5 separate regions of the Homo sapiens genome follow, and regions 2, 3, 4 and 5 are each linked to region 1. The links are contacts of gene promoters, found by promoter capture Hi-C in blood cells and fetal thymus (Javierre and others, 2016). All regions are on one chromosome and are shown on one strand. Each heading gives the region's core, a stretch centred on a gene start or on the middle of the fragment in contact. The rest is flanking DNA. Distances are from core to core; before and after follow the strand shown. Region 1 holds the start of PLEKHG7 (pleckstrin homology and RhoGEF domain containing G7). Region 2 overlaps LOC105369896 (a long non-coding RNA gene). Region 3 overlaps LOC105369896 (a long non-coding RNA gene). Region 4 overlaps LOC105369896 (a long non-coding RNA gene). Region 5 overlaps LOC105369896 (a long non-coding RNA gene).

Region 1 (2,809 bases), core at 145-2,644:
ATTGATAAAATAAGGTACATTGTTGCTACATGGAGAGGCCAGTTCCTCATTCTCCCAACAAACAAATGCTGAGCTGAGCATCAAATCTATAGGTACTTTCTTTCTTTTTTTTTTTCTTTTTAGAGATGGAGTCTGGCTCTGTCGCCCAGGCTGAGTGCAGAGGTGTGATCATATCGCACTGTAACCTCAAACTCCTAGCCTCACAGAATCCTCATGCTGCAGTGCTCCTGAGTAGTTGGGGCTATGGATGCTTACCACCCCACCCAGCTAATTTTGAATCAATAGGTACTTTCACACATACATACAATCAGGGCCGTTCTATTATTTTTCTCCTTTAGAAGACTGTCCAAGTTCTAGGCAGCAACAATGTTAAAGGAATTCAGTATATTTGCATAGGCACTTGCATAATAGTTAGATCAGATTTCTTAGTCTTTGGGTTTCCCCTCTGTCCTTCTGGCCTTTTCCTCTCCTCTTTTGAGGGGTTAGGATACGGCTTTGGGTTTCCTTTGTAGTCGTTCAGACACAGGGGTGTAGCTGCTGGTAGGAAGTTATTTATGGCCAATAGGATTCACATCGGTAAGAATTATTTATTAGCCACTGTCTTAAATATTGGAACCAAGGCAATAGTAACTGCCGACATGATGCACTGCGGAAATGGAGAAACTTTAAAAACAGCAGGGCTTAGGGAGGTGGTTTGCAGAAAGGCAGGAAGAGCTCAAGCACCAGAAGAAATGGGTCTGGTTTCTCTTCCAGTATCACCGCCAATTGGCTGTGTGACCTAGGACAAGCCACTTCTCCTCTGCCAACTGCCATGCAGCATTTACCAAGAGGACATCAAAGAACCTCCCTCACAGGCCTGTTGCAGAAATTAAATGAGATAATGGCTAAGGCTCCTGGGAAGCTTTCCCTAAATGACTACACCCAGTGGATCTGGTAGAATCAAAAGTTAACAAGTCAATCCATTCATGCTAACTCTTCTTTATGTTTAAAAGAGGAAATTAATACATGGTCACCATAAAGAAAATTCACCAACCTTTGACCTTCCAAGCTTTGAGAATCCAGCAAACACCCACCCACACTGTTGGGGAAGCCATCTCACTGTACTAGAAATGAAACCATTGCAGGTTAATGATTCACTAATTCTAATGAGACCTGGAGAGATCAGCAAAACAAGCGAAACTGATAGCAATAGGACAAAAGGAAAGTGCAAGAGAGAAACCCAGAAAGCAGCTGAATGTTGCCTTTAATACCTGTAAGATGGTCTGTCCCTGAAGGCAACTGCACCCAGGTGGGTCCCGAGGCTCCTCAGAACCCGCAGATCCAGAGTGAGCTGCCAGGCGAGGGCTCGGAGCAACAAGTTCCACACCTGTAACAATGCGTCCTCCTGGCTGAGTGAAAGCAACCTTGCTACCAGCTGCAATGAGGAACTGGTCTCTCCCCTCCTTAGAGACATTTCCAGTTATTTGTTTATGAAAAAGCCTAAAGGGAAGCCAGCTCAGAATCTAAGGCAGCCTAAGAACAAGTCAGGTAAACAACGGCTGATCAAATACAGAAATGATGCAAATGTAACTTTTTACTTCCTCTTGAGGCATTCAACAAATCATCACTCATAGTTCAGTGAAGCAGTTCTAGGTTTCTATTTCATTTATTTTCTCTAAGGTTGTGAGATGCATTCTTTGGGACTCTACTTTCTTCACATCATAAAACATTTTGTGTTGATCTATTTTATTAATGACTTGCTTTGATAAGCATTGAATAGTAGAGGAAATGATTAGAGCACCAGGGAGTGAATTTGTGAACATTAGTTTTCAAATAATTAAAATGCAAATGGAAGAGCATTTATATCTACCAGTATTCTCATTAGATCAGTACCCCAAAGAATATTTATTTGATGCCTAGGTGGAGATAATGCATATGTATGCAGCATTAAACAAAAATGTCTATAGACTTTCCCAAAACAAAGTTGAAGTAATTCTAATGAAGTCTAATTCACTGAAGTTTTCATTGATTGGACTCATTACAGATACTTACTGTGAAGGTTCCCTGAGGTCGGTAGTTCTTAAAGTAGGGTCCCTGGACCAGCAGTATCACTATGACTTGAGAACTTGTTAGAAAGGAAAAATCTTCCCCCTCCATGCTCTCCAACCCCTGGAACTCTGGGATGGGGTCAGAAGTCCGTGGTTTTTTTTTGAGACAGGGTCTCACTCTGTCACTCAGGCTGGAGTGCAGTGGCACGATCTCAGCTCACTGCAACCTCCACCTCCTGGGTTCAAGCGATTCTCCTACCTCAGCTTCCTGTGTAGCTGAGATTACAGGTGCACACCACCAGGGCCCGGCTAACTTTTGTATTTTTAGTACAGACGGGGTTTCACCATATTGGCCAGGCTGTCCGAACTCCTGACCTCAGGTGGTCCACCCACTTCGGCCTCCCAAAGTGCTGGGATTACAGGTGTGAGCCACTGTGCCCAGCCAGAAGTCTGTGTTTAACAAGACTTCCAGGTGATTCTTACATGGGTTAAAATTTGAGAACCACTGCCCTTAGAGGAAAAGAAAAAAAGGTCTAACTTATAGATGTTGGCCTTGTGATAAACTTTATATTAGTCTTTAATTCTCTCATATTGATCTTACTAGAACATCATTTACTTAGAACTTTGAAAAATGACTTGATCTCCTGCCCTCACCACCATTGCCAACATTACCATGACTCAACCAAAAGCAGGATATCAAAAAATATTTTGCCTGCATGGAGCCTGCATAAACAGTTCTGAGCTCCTGCCAAGGATGTCTAGAAGTGAATTGCTTCAATTTG
Region 2 (2,809 bases), core at 161-2,660, 1.2 Mb after region 1:
ATATATTATTCTCTTTTCCTTAGACTTGTTCTAGTAAGGAAAATTTAAATTTTTTTTTCAGTTTTGTAATTTTACAACATAAATAAATACTGTTATAAGTATTTATGTGAATTACTCTTATTATGTTCAGTAATATGCTGTGAGATTCTTTGTGGCTAGTTAATTTAGTCATTTTGAATTCACCAGAGCCTATCGGTTTATAGTACTTTTTCCTGTATTTTCCATCTTATCTCTCAGTATTTTATTTTGGGTATCTTCCAGTTTTACTAATTTTCTGTTCAGCTGTGATTGAACTACTAGTAGACTCATCCACCAAGTACTTAATTTTAGGTATTGTACTTTAATTTTCTAATTTCATTTGATTCATCTTGATAGTTTCCAATTCTCCACCAGAATTATCCATCTTATCATTTAACTCTTTTAGTATATAAATTGTAGTCATTTAAGAATCTGTGTTCGAGTATGCCAGTATCTGGATCTCTTTCTTGTATTGCTTTATTTTCTTTTAGTTTTTGCTCAAGACTAGCTTTTTATTTGTCTAACCATTTTTTAAAAAGTATGAAACATTATAACAAAAAATATGAAATAACATGATATCCACAGGATGTTATCTTTATTCAGAGTGGGAAAATTTTTGGATGAAAATTTCTTTATGATGGATTGAAAGGGCATGAAATTAGGCTTTGAGATTTTGGGGGAGGACTGGTCTACTTCCAATTCACCTTTATCTTAGGACATAGCTTTTAAAGGTTCCCAGCTGAGAGACTCTATACCTGTAGATCTCTGAATGCCAGTTTTTGCCTCTTCAGCTCCATATGTCTACTAGCAGCTCTGCAAAGCTTCTCAACCATAGCTTTTGTAATCCGCAATAAGTTGAAGTAGAAACAGCTCCATAGTTAGCCGTGTTGATAGGCATGGATAGAAAGACCTACATGTCTACATCTGTATCTGTCCATCTATATATCTTTGGTTCTTTTTCAAATATGTGTGATTATTTTTTATTGATTATTACTCCTTATCTATGCTTTTAATTTCTTCTTTTATTTATTCAATCATATTAAGCATATCATCTTTCTGTTAATTTCAATGTATGAAGTCTCTGCAGGCCTCATTCTTAAGCTATTTTTCTGCTTACTCTCCCTCTTGGTATTTTTTGGGGGCATGCTTTGTAATTAAAAAAAATTAGTGATTTCATACATATTAAAATTTTATTTGTGGGCCTTCTTTAAGACCTGTATTTAAAATGCATTATTCAGAAAGGGTTTATTTTTCTCTTTTCAAAGAACATGGGGTAAGGGGCACTACCAACCTGGCAGCAGCAACCTAAATCCAATTCTCTACTCGAGATTTTTTTATATCCTTTAGGTAGTGTGAATTCATAATACAAAAAAAGTATTACAGTTGACTTAAGAACACTTGATATGTCTCCTCCACCAAGAGCTAAAGTCCAGATAGAACAATTTCCGCCCTGGTCCTTTTTGTGGAAATTTTTTGTCATTGTTGTTAATGAGTCACAATTTATACAAGGGCTATGTCTTTGAGAGTCTTCATTTTATGTGGGAGTCTCTGTCTGACGTTCTCACCATGAACAGACTCAAGGCTTTTCTTCCTTGTATTGTGTGACCATTTAAAATGAAACTCAGTTAGGATTAGCAGGTGCTGGTCATGTTATCTCTGGATATGTGCTCCCAGTTTTCTAACCCCTGAGGAGGGATAGCTTATTTCACTGCAATCTTCATCATCCATTTAAAACTTTTTTAACTAATATTTTTATGAAACATTTTCAGATATTTTGTAAATAAGGACAAGGTATTAAGATCACAATGCTCAAAGCTCCATTCAGGACTTTAGCATTTACTTGTTGGACTTTTCATAATAATCTTCCAAGTCAGAGGTTGGCAAACTATGGCCTGTGAAACAAATCCAGCCCACTGTGTGTTTTTATAAATAAAGTTTCACTGAAAGTTTTATTGAAAGCTTTGCAAATATGTGTTTCTGCCTTCAGTTTAACAGACTTTTTTATAGCGTGTAGAGGGGGGTGTGTTTTTTTTTTATTTTGTTTTTATCTTCTTGTTTTCCTCTTTCTCTTTGCTCTTCTACCCTCATCCATCATTTTCTAGCAAAGGCTTCCTTTCAGGGGCTGAATTAAAAACCATTCTTCTAATTGTGATATTTTATCCTGAAGGTATGAGGGAAAATCCAAATGAAGCTACCCAGTGAGGGTTTGGGTTGGTTCAGCTCAAAGCTGTCTATATCCTCCTGCCCTATAGGCCTGCCGCTCACCATGTGCCCCTGTAGACCTGGATCACACCATGTGCCACAGCCCCTGCAATGGAACAGTCTTTCTCAGGCTCTTTTTATTAGGTGAGGACTCTGGCTTCACTGAGAAAGGCAGAAGTCAGCTCCCAAATACCACAAAGAATACTCTTAATTTTCTTATTCTGACAGGAGTCAAACTCTTGGCTTCCACTGTTTGCTTCTGGATGTGAACCTTGACCATTCCACAGTACCATCTCTGCACATTCTCTCATTTCTTGTCACAAAGTAGTTTATCTTGTGTTTGAGCCAAGGCATATCTTTTTTATATTTTATCTATCATTGCTATTTGTTTAGAGCCGAAGGGATGATCAAAATATTGCCACTGTATCATCTTTCTGAAATTTGAGTTAATGTGATACTTTTAAGGAAGAAAATTTTATCCTCACTTAGGTAGCAGATCTTTATTGATTTCTCCAAAGGGATCTTCTTTCTTCAGAAAAAAAAAAATGGAATAAGAGCAGAAAAGATGACAAGAATGCACATGCATATG
Region 3 (2,809 bases), core at 81-2,580, 1.2 Mb after region 1:
GGTCTATATCACCCAGATCTCAATTTTTCTTATGTCCCAAGACTTTTAGAACTACCCCCACCCTATACAGAGATTAGTTCCCTAAAATAAAGAATTCAGTCATAACTATTATCTGTGGTGTTTTCTTTTGGCACTTCCCTTTATGAGACTGACAAAATATCTTGAACATAATAAATTCTCAATGTTTAGAACGCTGAAAAGCTAAGTGGAGAAAGAGCTAAAGATAAGAACAAGCCATATATCAAAGAGTTATAAGGAAATAGGCTAATCTATGCCTAAGTTCAAAAGTAAACACAGAGTCAAAAGTGAGAAGAAAAATAAAAAACGTCATAGACTAGCTACACACAGGAATTAAATAGGTGGCCAAGCTAAGCCAAAGTTAGGAATCTAGGAAAAAACTCCCAAAAGATGAACCAAGCTGACATCCATTTTTAGTAAGTAAAAATAACATGATTCATAGGCAAATGAGTATAAAGGTCCCGAGTTTCTGCCTGCTGCTTCTTAATTGGGTGACCTTGGATAGGTAATTAAACTCTTCTAAGCTCCCCTAAGCCTCAGCTTCTGCCTTTATAAGATGGAGCTACTTCATGGGATTTTTGTAAGAATGAATTATGATAGTACACGAAAAGTGCTTAGGGTAGCATAAAGGACTCAATGAATGTTAATTGCTATTACTAGAGATTGCGTTAGATAACATCAGTCTTTTCTAATGTTCTTAAAATGTTGTCAGAGTATAATATTCCTAATTTGTTCACTCATTCTCAATGTAGTAGAATTATAGTCTCCCTGATCTGATGCTGCAGCCCTGTGAGAACTTCTTTTTACATACATGGCTAGTGGTAGGCAGAATGGATAATTCCGTGTAAGGTATATGCATGAAATGTATTTCCTGAAATGCACTATACATACATGATCCATGCAAATTCTTTACCCCCATTTACCCCCATTATAAACCTGCTTATTTAGAATCTGATTGTGACCATGACCAAAATGTTTTGGTAGAACTACTTAATGTCAATGACTAAACATATTAGGAAGAACTTGGCTCATATTTCTAATTTGCCCTTGCTTTGTTTTAGAAATGGTTTAGAATTTACCTCCTGTTAAAAAGAATTGACTGATTGTAAGAATCATAATAATGGAGTTTTAGCTTTTATGACCTTCATGCCAGATATGATCCTTATGCTGGCAATCAAGTCATGGCTATTTAGCTTAGGCTGAATTTATAATAACTTTTGGATTACTCTGAATTAAATAAAAATGGTCCTAGGAAGAAGACTGAGAATTTAGGCAGCTACAGCTCTCTCTCTCCTCTCTCTCTCTCTCTCCTCTTCTCTTTCTCTCTTTCTTTCTCATCTCTATCTTTGCTTTGGAAGGGGTAATGTCTGAGTTTCTGCCCTTTCCTATTTCATGTGTTCTTTTAAATTATTATTAAATTTTTGGACAAAAAAAGATGTCTTTTTTTTCTTCTGAGATCCTTTCAGAACACATCCTCGGGGCTCACACATCTAAAGCTGCCTAAATTCTCAGTCTTCTTCCTAGGACCATTTTTATTTAATTATTAGGCAGCTAATGCCCAATTTATATTATTTGGAGTCTAGTTTCTCCAGTCTTTACCTCATTAGTCCTTATACTTGGATTCAGCTATAACAGCTTTTCTGTTATTTTACTTTTCTGCATGCCTTGTATACCTCTTTTTCCTTCTCCTTGTTCTCCTCCTCCTCCTCTTCTCTCACTTCTTGTTTACTGTGATTTTCCAAGGAACTAACTAGAAATTATCCAGCCTAGTTCATGATCTTGTCCTAAACAACATTAATATCAACTGAGTTTGCACCATCATTCAACGTTTACATAAATTTGCAACAATCTCCCTTCCCAGACGGTAAGTTTGAGGTTCTCAACAGTGTTCCAATGGCTGACATTCTCATGGTTTGCCTCTAGCCTTGAATTCCGATTCCCACTGAACTCCAGTTCTCAAGAGTGTCTCATCTCCAATGTTTGTTCATGACATGTGGTCCTATGCTGACCTATTCATCTCTGCTTTCTCCAAAATGCTACCCACACAAGTCATTTGCAGGTGCATCAGATTTTACCAAGAAGAGTATTGTATAGCAGCAATAGTTTCCAAACTGTTTAATACTGAGCATTAGACCTGTTCTAGAGGCTTTTGTCCATGAGCCACCCACTAGAAATTTCTTAGTAATCACAGAGTTCCTGCATCTCTGGATTCCTGCTTTGCTACATTTTTCTAGTCTCTTTCTCTTTCTTCTGTCTCCTCTCTCTCTCTCTCCTCTCTCTCTTCTCTTTCTCTCTTTCTTTCTCATCTCTATCTTTACTTTGGAAGGGGTAATGTCTGAGTTTCTGCCCTTTCCTATTTCATGTGTTCTTTTAAATTCTTATTAAATTTTTGGACAGAAAAAGATGTCTTTTTTTTTTTCTTCTGAGATCCTTTCAGAACACATCCTCGGGGCTCACACATCTAAAGCAAAATAGCAAGGTGTTTTTCTAAACAAAGACAGTGTTCTCTCTAAGGGGAACTCTGAGCCAGCCGTTAACATTACAATTTTATTTACCCTGCCACCTTCGCTTAAAGAACAAACCAATGAAGACCTTTTGGGATTTAACTTCTCCAGAAAAAGGCATATGTACATGGCAGGAATATTATCATAATATAATTTTCCTTAAAGGTTTTGGTTATGTCGATATTTATAATCCAGCTGTCCCAGTACACAGAACCATGTTAGAGAAAACTAGATTCACTGTAGCAGTAACACACACTTGTTTCTACTCATTATATATTCATATCGTT
Region 4 (2,809 bases), core at 117-2,616, 1.2 Mb after region 1:
ATAAAGTGGTTATACATTCTGCTTTCTGGCACAGTCCTGCTTTACCCTTGCATCCTAATTTTGTTAATAAATTATATGGTCAACTATTTAAGAGGCATTGATGGGTATTTGATCATAGGTTCACCAAATGATTATGCAATCCAAGTTTTAATAATAAAATATGTGTTGTTAATTACTTTGGCACATGCCCAGCAGCAATCTACCATCAAATATAAATAATCTAGTTTATGAAAACTAAATCAAGAGCTCCTGAAGACACCTTTGAGTTGAATGAGTGGGTGGTTCACACACCACACACATTGTGTGCCTATGCTAGGCATAATGATGGCTCTTCTTTAACCCATACTTGTGGCTTTGCGGTAAGTTTTTTTGTTTGGTTTTTTTTTTTTGAGAAGTTGGCTAAGGAGAAAAAAAAATGAAACCTAAGTTATAGGTGATTCTTCATGATATAGTGATCACATTTGGAATTAAAATTCTGTGGTGTTATGTTATAGCTCGAAGGTCATAATGAGAGAAGGTTGCACATGTCTAGGCCATTCAAAATGTGCTTCTAGTATAAGAGTATTAGATTACCACATAAATATGCAACAAAAAGTTGATCTTGTAGAGGAGGATTTAAATAACTATATTGATAATTTAGTTGTTTTGCAATTATCAGCCACTTTCCTCTGCAACTGTCATATGATATGCTCAAAGAACTCAAGAACAATATGGCTATGTTGGCAGAGAGATATCCCTTCAACAAGGCCAAATGTGGCATGCCACAGGTAATGCTCCATTTACGTCAATACAAAGCCACTATTGTGGTCTCATTAAAGAGAGTATTCTTAGTGTAAAACATATTTTCTGAAACACCATTAAGCTTGGGAAAAACTACTTATTGTTTTTTCATTAAAATAGACATTTATTTCAAATTTATAGTTACTTTCCTTGTTGATCTTGTTTCCCACCGGTACTTCCATTTAATAAATCTGCATATGGCAGTCCTTGTCCATTTCAACCAAGGAACTTCATTTACCGCAAAACAAAGTAGTCTGATGTCCATGAGACTCATGGGGCTTATCACTTATCTGTGGTTTTATAGAAATGTGGAATAGTCTAGTTAGACTTGTTACAATGCCAACTGAGAAAAAATTATTTATCTGTCTTCTATCAAAGTAGTGGGTGCTTTAAAGAGGGGAGTGTTATCTTACTAAACTAGCAAATAGTAAATGAAGAAAAAAGTTGTATGGTGAAGTAGTTAAGAATTCCAGTTCAGGATGCATCTGTTTCAGATACAGTAATGGAAATAACTAAAAAATAATAATAGTAAGAGCATACATAGAACAATGATGCTCAAGACATTGGACATCATTCTATAAAGAGTAGTGATGTTTTATAGAAGAAAAGAAATAAAGAATTCATTATTATTGATCCAGATTACTAGATGGAGAAATATTCTGGGCCACAGTGTAGAGAAAGGGAATCCAGGCTGAATCTGATGCTTTCCCTGAGTTGAGATGGAGCTGGAAGTCTGAGGAAGCAAAGTTGTCTAGAGCCCTCAGGGCAGAGTGCTAGAGAAAAGAGAGATGCACAGAAAAAGAACTCTAAGGACCTGAAGAAGGTACCCATGAAGGTTTCAATTAAGTACTGATTTGCACACTCATGTGAAAAAGCTAGCTAATACAGAAAAAAAATAACTATCCAAAGGAATTAGAAAGAAGAGTGTCCTAAGTTCCAAAAGGTTGACAATAGTGTCTGTTCCTAACACCCAAAGTAGAAAACCACAATTCATGAGGCATCAATTAGAGCACTAACAAAGGTCTTGGCTCAGTAGTGGGGGAAATTAACCCAAGAATAAACAGTAATATGGTCCATTTAATGAAGCTTAAAATATAAAGACTTGAAAGGATTAAATAATTTGCAAGTAACAACTGCATCCAGTACAAAGCCCAAGAAGATTTAAGCTTTTTTAAAAAAAATTCTTTTAAGCTTTTTTTTTTTTAATTTGTACATAACAGGTGTACATCTTTTCAGGGAACATGTGATAATTTAATATATTCATATACTTTGTAAAACATCAAATCAATGTAATTGGGATATATATCCATGAACTTAAATATTTGTCTTTATGCTAGAAATATTGAAATTATTCTCTTCGAGCTATTTTGAAATATACAAGAGATTATTGTAAACAATAGTCAATACACTAGGAGTACTGAATCCAATTGGAGTTTTGAATCAAGAGGGAGGGTTGAGAAAAAAATGTGTGAAAAGATAATGGCTAAGGATTTCCCAAAGCTGATGAAAGCTATAAAGGTATAGTTACTAGAAGCACAAGAAACATGAAGAAAACATGAAAGCATGCAATAATCAAATTGCTTATAACAATAATAAAGAGGAAATCTTGGAAGACAGGGAAAAAAAGACATTATGAAGAGGACAAAGGTAATGATAACAGAGGTTTTTTTGTTTCGTTTTGTTTTGTTTTGTTTTTGGAAATAATGTAAGCCAGAAGGCAGTGGAGCAATATCTTTAATGTACTGAAAGGTTAAAACTGTCAAACTAGAATTTTTAACTCAGAAAAAAACAACTTACAGACAAAAAAGTAAAACAAAGACAGTTTTAGACATGCAAAGGCTGAAATAATTTAACACTAGGAGACCTGAACTATAAGAAAATATCGAAAGGAAGGTTTCCAAGCAGAAGAAAAATACTGGCTGGGCACGGTGGCTAACATCTGTAATCCCAGCACTTTGGGAGGCCAAGTGGGCAGATCACGAGGTCAGGAGATCGAGACCATCCTGGCCAACATGGTGAAACCCTGTCT
Region 5 (2,809 bases), core at 184-2,683, 1.1 Mb after region 1:
TTTGTATTTTTAGTAGAGACGGAGTTTCACCATGTTGGCCAGGCTGTTCTGGAACTCCTGACCTCAGGTGATCCACCCGCCTCAGCCTCCCAAAGTGCTGGGATTACAGGCGTGAGCCACCATGCCTGGCCTCCATCAGTATTTCTTAAACTTTAATTTGGAGACCAGTGCCACTGTACACACAAAATGGAAAATAGGCAATGGGTTTAATTTTATGTAAAGATAAATTTTTTTAAAAAAGGATATTCTTTGTTCTAAGATAATATTCTTTTTTTTTAAAAAAAAATATGGTCTTATCATGCAGTGGTTAAAATTGTGATAGAAAATTGCCCCGGGTTGAACCCTAGACAAATGTCTTAGCACTTCTGCAGTCTTGGGTAATTGCACGTCTTTCTGGGCTTCAGTCTTTTCAACTGTAAAATGGGGAGACTACCATTAATCATACGAACTATACTAAAGATGGAAAAACATGATATTCAGAAGTTGCTCTGCTGGCTGGTTGACTGATACTCATTAGATGCCTGCCTCTCCTGTAAAAATATTTACTTTCAAGAAACGGTGGTGTTGGTAGAAATAACTTTACATAGTTTGTTTTACTCATTTAGCTTATTATCTGGGTTATACGTTTACATGATTCAAGATGCAAACAGTCCCAAAAGTTTCCACCAGGTACCACCAATTCCTCTTCCCTGAAGGCATCAATTATTATTGTGTTTCTCTCATATACTTTCAGAGATATTTTATGCCGATGTAAGCAAATACACATAGGTGTATATATTCTACTACTCCTTTTTTTTGCTCAACTGGTTGCGTATAATATTTGCTGTTCTATAACTTTTAAAAATAATATATCTTACATATCATTTCTAACAGTATATAAAGAAGCTCATCATTGTTTTTATGTATTCTATTGCAGTCTATGTATTGTGTTCTATTGATATCAAGTGACGCTACCTTGTTAACTAGTCCCCTGGGTATTTAGTTTGCTTTCAATATTTTGCTACAAAAATCAACATGCAGTAAACAACCTTGTTCATTTCATACATATGTAACATCTGTAGAAAAGCTTCTAGAAGTAGAATTTCTGGACAAACAAATTTATGTTTGTAGTTACGATTTTGCCACATTACCCTCTATCAATGTTATGACAGTTAAAACTTGTAGTAGCAATATACCCAAGTTCTTGTTACTCCTATCCTTCATCAGTATGTTATCATACTGGCTGATCTTAGCCTAAATGAAAGGTGAACAATGGTATCTCATTGTATGCTTAGTTTATACTTTCCTTGTAAGTAACATCAAGTGAGTTTTTTCATGTCTGTATGTGGTAAGCAGAATTCTAAAGGTGTCCCCCTAAGATTCTCATTCCTGTTGTAAAGAAAATATAATCAAACATGACTTCACATACTGTTGTAAAATGACTTTGCAGATGCCATTAAAGTTACTAATCACCTGACATTAAAATAGGGAGATTATCCTGGAACACCTGGATGGGCCCAGTCTAATCACAAAGTCCTTAAAAGCAGAACAGAAAATGGAAGAGTCAGTCAGATGTGTAGTAATAGAGGAAGGCAAGAGAGAGGAGGCAGAAGGAGAGGTCAATGAGATTTGAAGCACGAGAAGGACTCAGTTGGTCATTGCTGGCTTCAAAGACAGAGAAAGGGTCCCTGAGCCAAGGAATATAGGAGCCTGTTGAAACTAAAAACAACCCTTTGCTCACAGCAAGTAAGGAAATGGGGACTTTAGTCTACTTGGAACAGAATTCTTACAACCCATTAATAAACATAGTTAGAAGCTTCAGAAATATAAAATAAAACGGGTAAATTTCAATGTTTATAAATTTTACCTCAATCAAGAAAAAAAGGAAAACAGTAAAATGCATTTTTTTAGGTTAGGAAGTGATAAAACATATTTTTCAACACTCAGGAAAGAAATATGAGACATGAATTTTTATATCCTTCAAGTGTAAGGCCATTGACAACCAATCAAAGGAAGTTTTGAACAGGCGAGCTACCTGGGAATATCATTCGCATGAGTATTTGCTCAGGAATGTAGTAGAGAATAAACTTCTGCCACTACAAAATGACTGGAGAAACTTCATTTATAAGGTCTGTGAGGTGTAAACTGAACATATTTAACTGTAGAACTGAGACAAAAAGAGGAAGATAAACCTTGGCAGAATAGTATATAAATATAATATGCTTTAAGAATAAAAGGTGTATTTAGTGCATTCTTGCATTGCTATAAAGAAATACTTGAGACTGGGTAATTTATGAAGAAAGGTTTAATTGGCTCATGGTTCTGCAGGCTGTAAGGGAAGTATAGCGCCAGCATCTGCTTGGCTTCTGGGGAGGCCTCAAGGAGCTTTTACTCATGGTGGAAGGCAAAGTGGGAGCAGACACGTCACAGGGAGAGAGCAGGAGTGAGAGAGAGTTGGGGGGAAGGAAGGTGCCACACACTTTTGAACGACCAGATCTCATGAGAACTCACTCACTGTCATAAGACAGCACCTGGGGGATGGTGCTAAACTATTCATGAAAAACCTGCCCCCATGATTCAATCGCCTCCCACCAGGCCCCACCTCCAACATTGGGGATTACAATTCAACATGAGATTTAGAGGGGGCACATAACTAAACTGTATCAAAAGGCATTATAAAACTAACAAAAATATGAAACGAGGAGAACTAATGTAAAGTCAAATTAGCTCTCTGATATTTTCATAGATTTTAATAGGGAGTGTAAGGGTATTAGCTAAAATTCACAAATGGAGTAGTTTAGTATATTTAGGAATAAAAACATTAAAATTA

The links. Contacts are between HindIII fragments. The CHiCAGO score rates a contact against its expected background, and 5 or more counts as called.
Region 2: a fragment that was not itself captured here is called in contact with the fragment with the promoter of PLEKHG7 in region 1 in 3 of 17 cell types (non-activated CD4 T cells, activated CD4 T cells and fetal thymus); the score reaches 8.5 in non-activated CD4 T cells.
Region 3: a fragment that was not itself captured here is called in contact with the fragment with the promoter of PLEKHG7 in region 1 in 4 of 17 cell types (naive CD8 T cells, total CD4 T cells, activated CD4 T cells and 1 more); the score reaches 7.5 in naive CD8 T cells.
Region 4: a fragment that was not itself captured here is called in contact with the fragment with the promoter of PLEKHG7 in region 1 in 5 of 17 cell types (activated CD4 T cells, non-activated CD4 T cells, total CD8 T cells and 2 more); the score reaches 14.4 in activated CD4 T cells.
Region 5: a contact is called between a fragment that was not itself captured here and the fragment with the promoter of PLEKHG7 in region 1, in 1 of 17 cell types (non-activated CD4 T cells). The highest score is 6.2, in non-activated CD4 T cells.

What each region holds. Positions count from the first base shown.
Region 1 is chr12:92,701,574-92,704,382 of GRCh38, reverse strand. It overlaps PLEKHG7 (pleckstrin homology and RhoGEF domain containing G7), which reads right to left and starts at 1,394. Exons shown (of 17, transcript NM_001377329.1): 1 at 1,251-1,394. RefSeq lists an enhancer at 1,194-1,253. The HindIII fragment of the contact is 11,169 bases long and covers 1,051-2,809 here.
Region 2 is chr12:91,495,250-91,498,058 of GRCh38, reverse strand. All of the region lies in intron 2 of LOC105369896 (a long non-coding RNA gene), which reads left to right. Among named protein-coding and RNA genes, the nearest start is that of LINC02823, 170 kb to the right of the region's middle. The HindIII fragment of the contact is 1,138 bases long and covers 842-1,979 here.
Region 3 is chr12:91,513,974-91,516,782 of GRCh38, reverse strand. The region is part of intron 1 of LOC105369896 (a long non-coding RNA gene); the gene reads left to right. Among named protein-coding and RNA genes, the nearest start is that of LINC02823, 190 kb to the right of the region's middle. The HindIII fragment of the contact is 3,063 bases long and covers 1-2,809 here.
Region 4 is chr12:91,534,526-91,537,334 of GRCh38, reverse strand. All of the region lies in intron 1 of LOC105369896 (a long non-coding RNA gene), which reads left to right. Among named protein-coding and RNA genes, the nearest start is that of LINC02823, 210 kb to the right of the region's middle. The HindIII fragment of the contact is 1,004 bases long and covers 865-1,868 here.
Region 5 is chr12:91,599,193-91,602,001 of GRCh38, reverse strand. The region is part of intron 1 of LOC105369896 (a long non-coding RNA gene); the gene reads left to right. Among named protein-coding and RNA genes, the nearest start is that of LINC02823, 270 kb to the right of the region's middle. The HindIII fragment of the contact is 729 bases long and covers 1,069-1,797 here.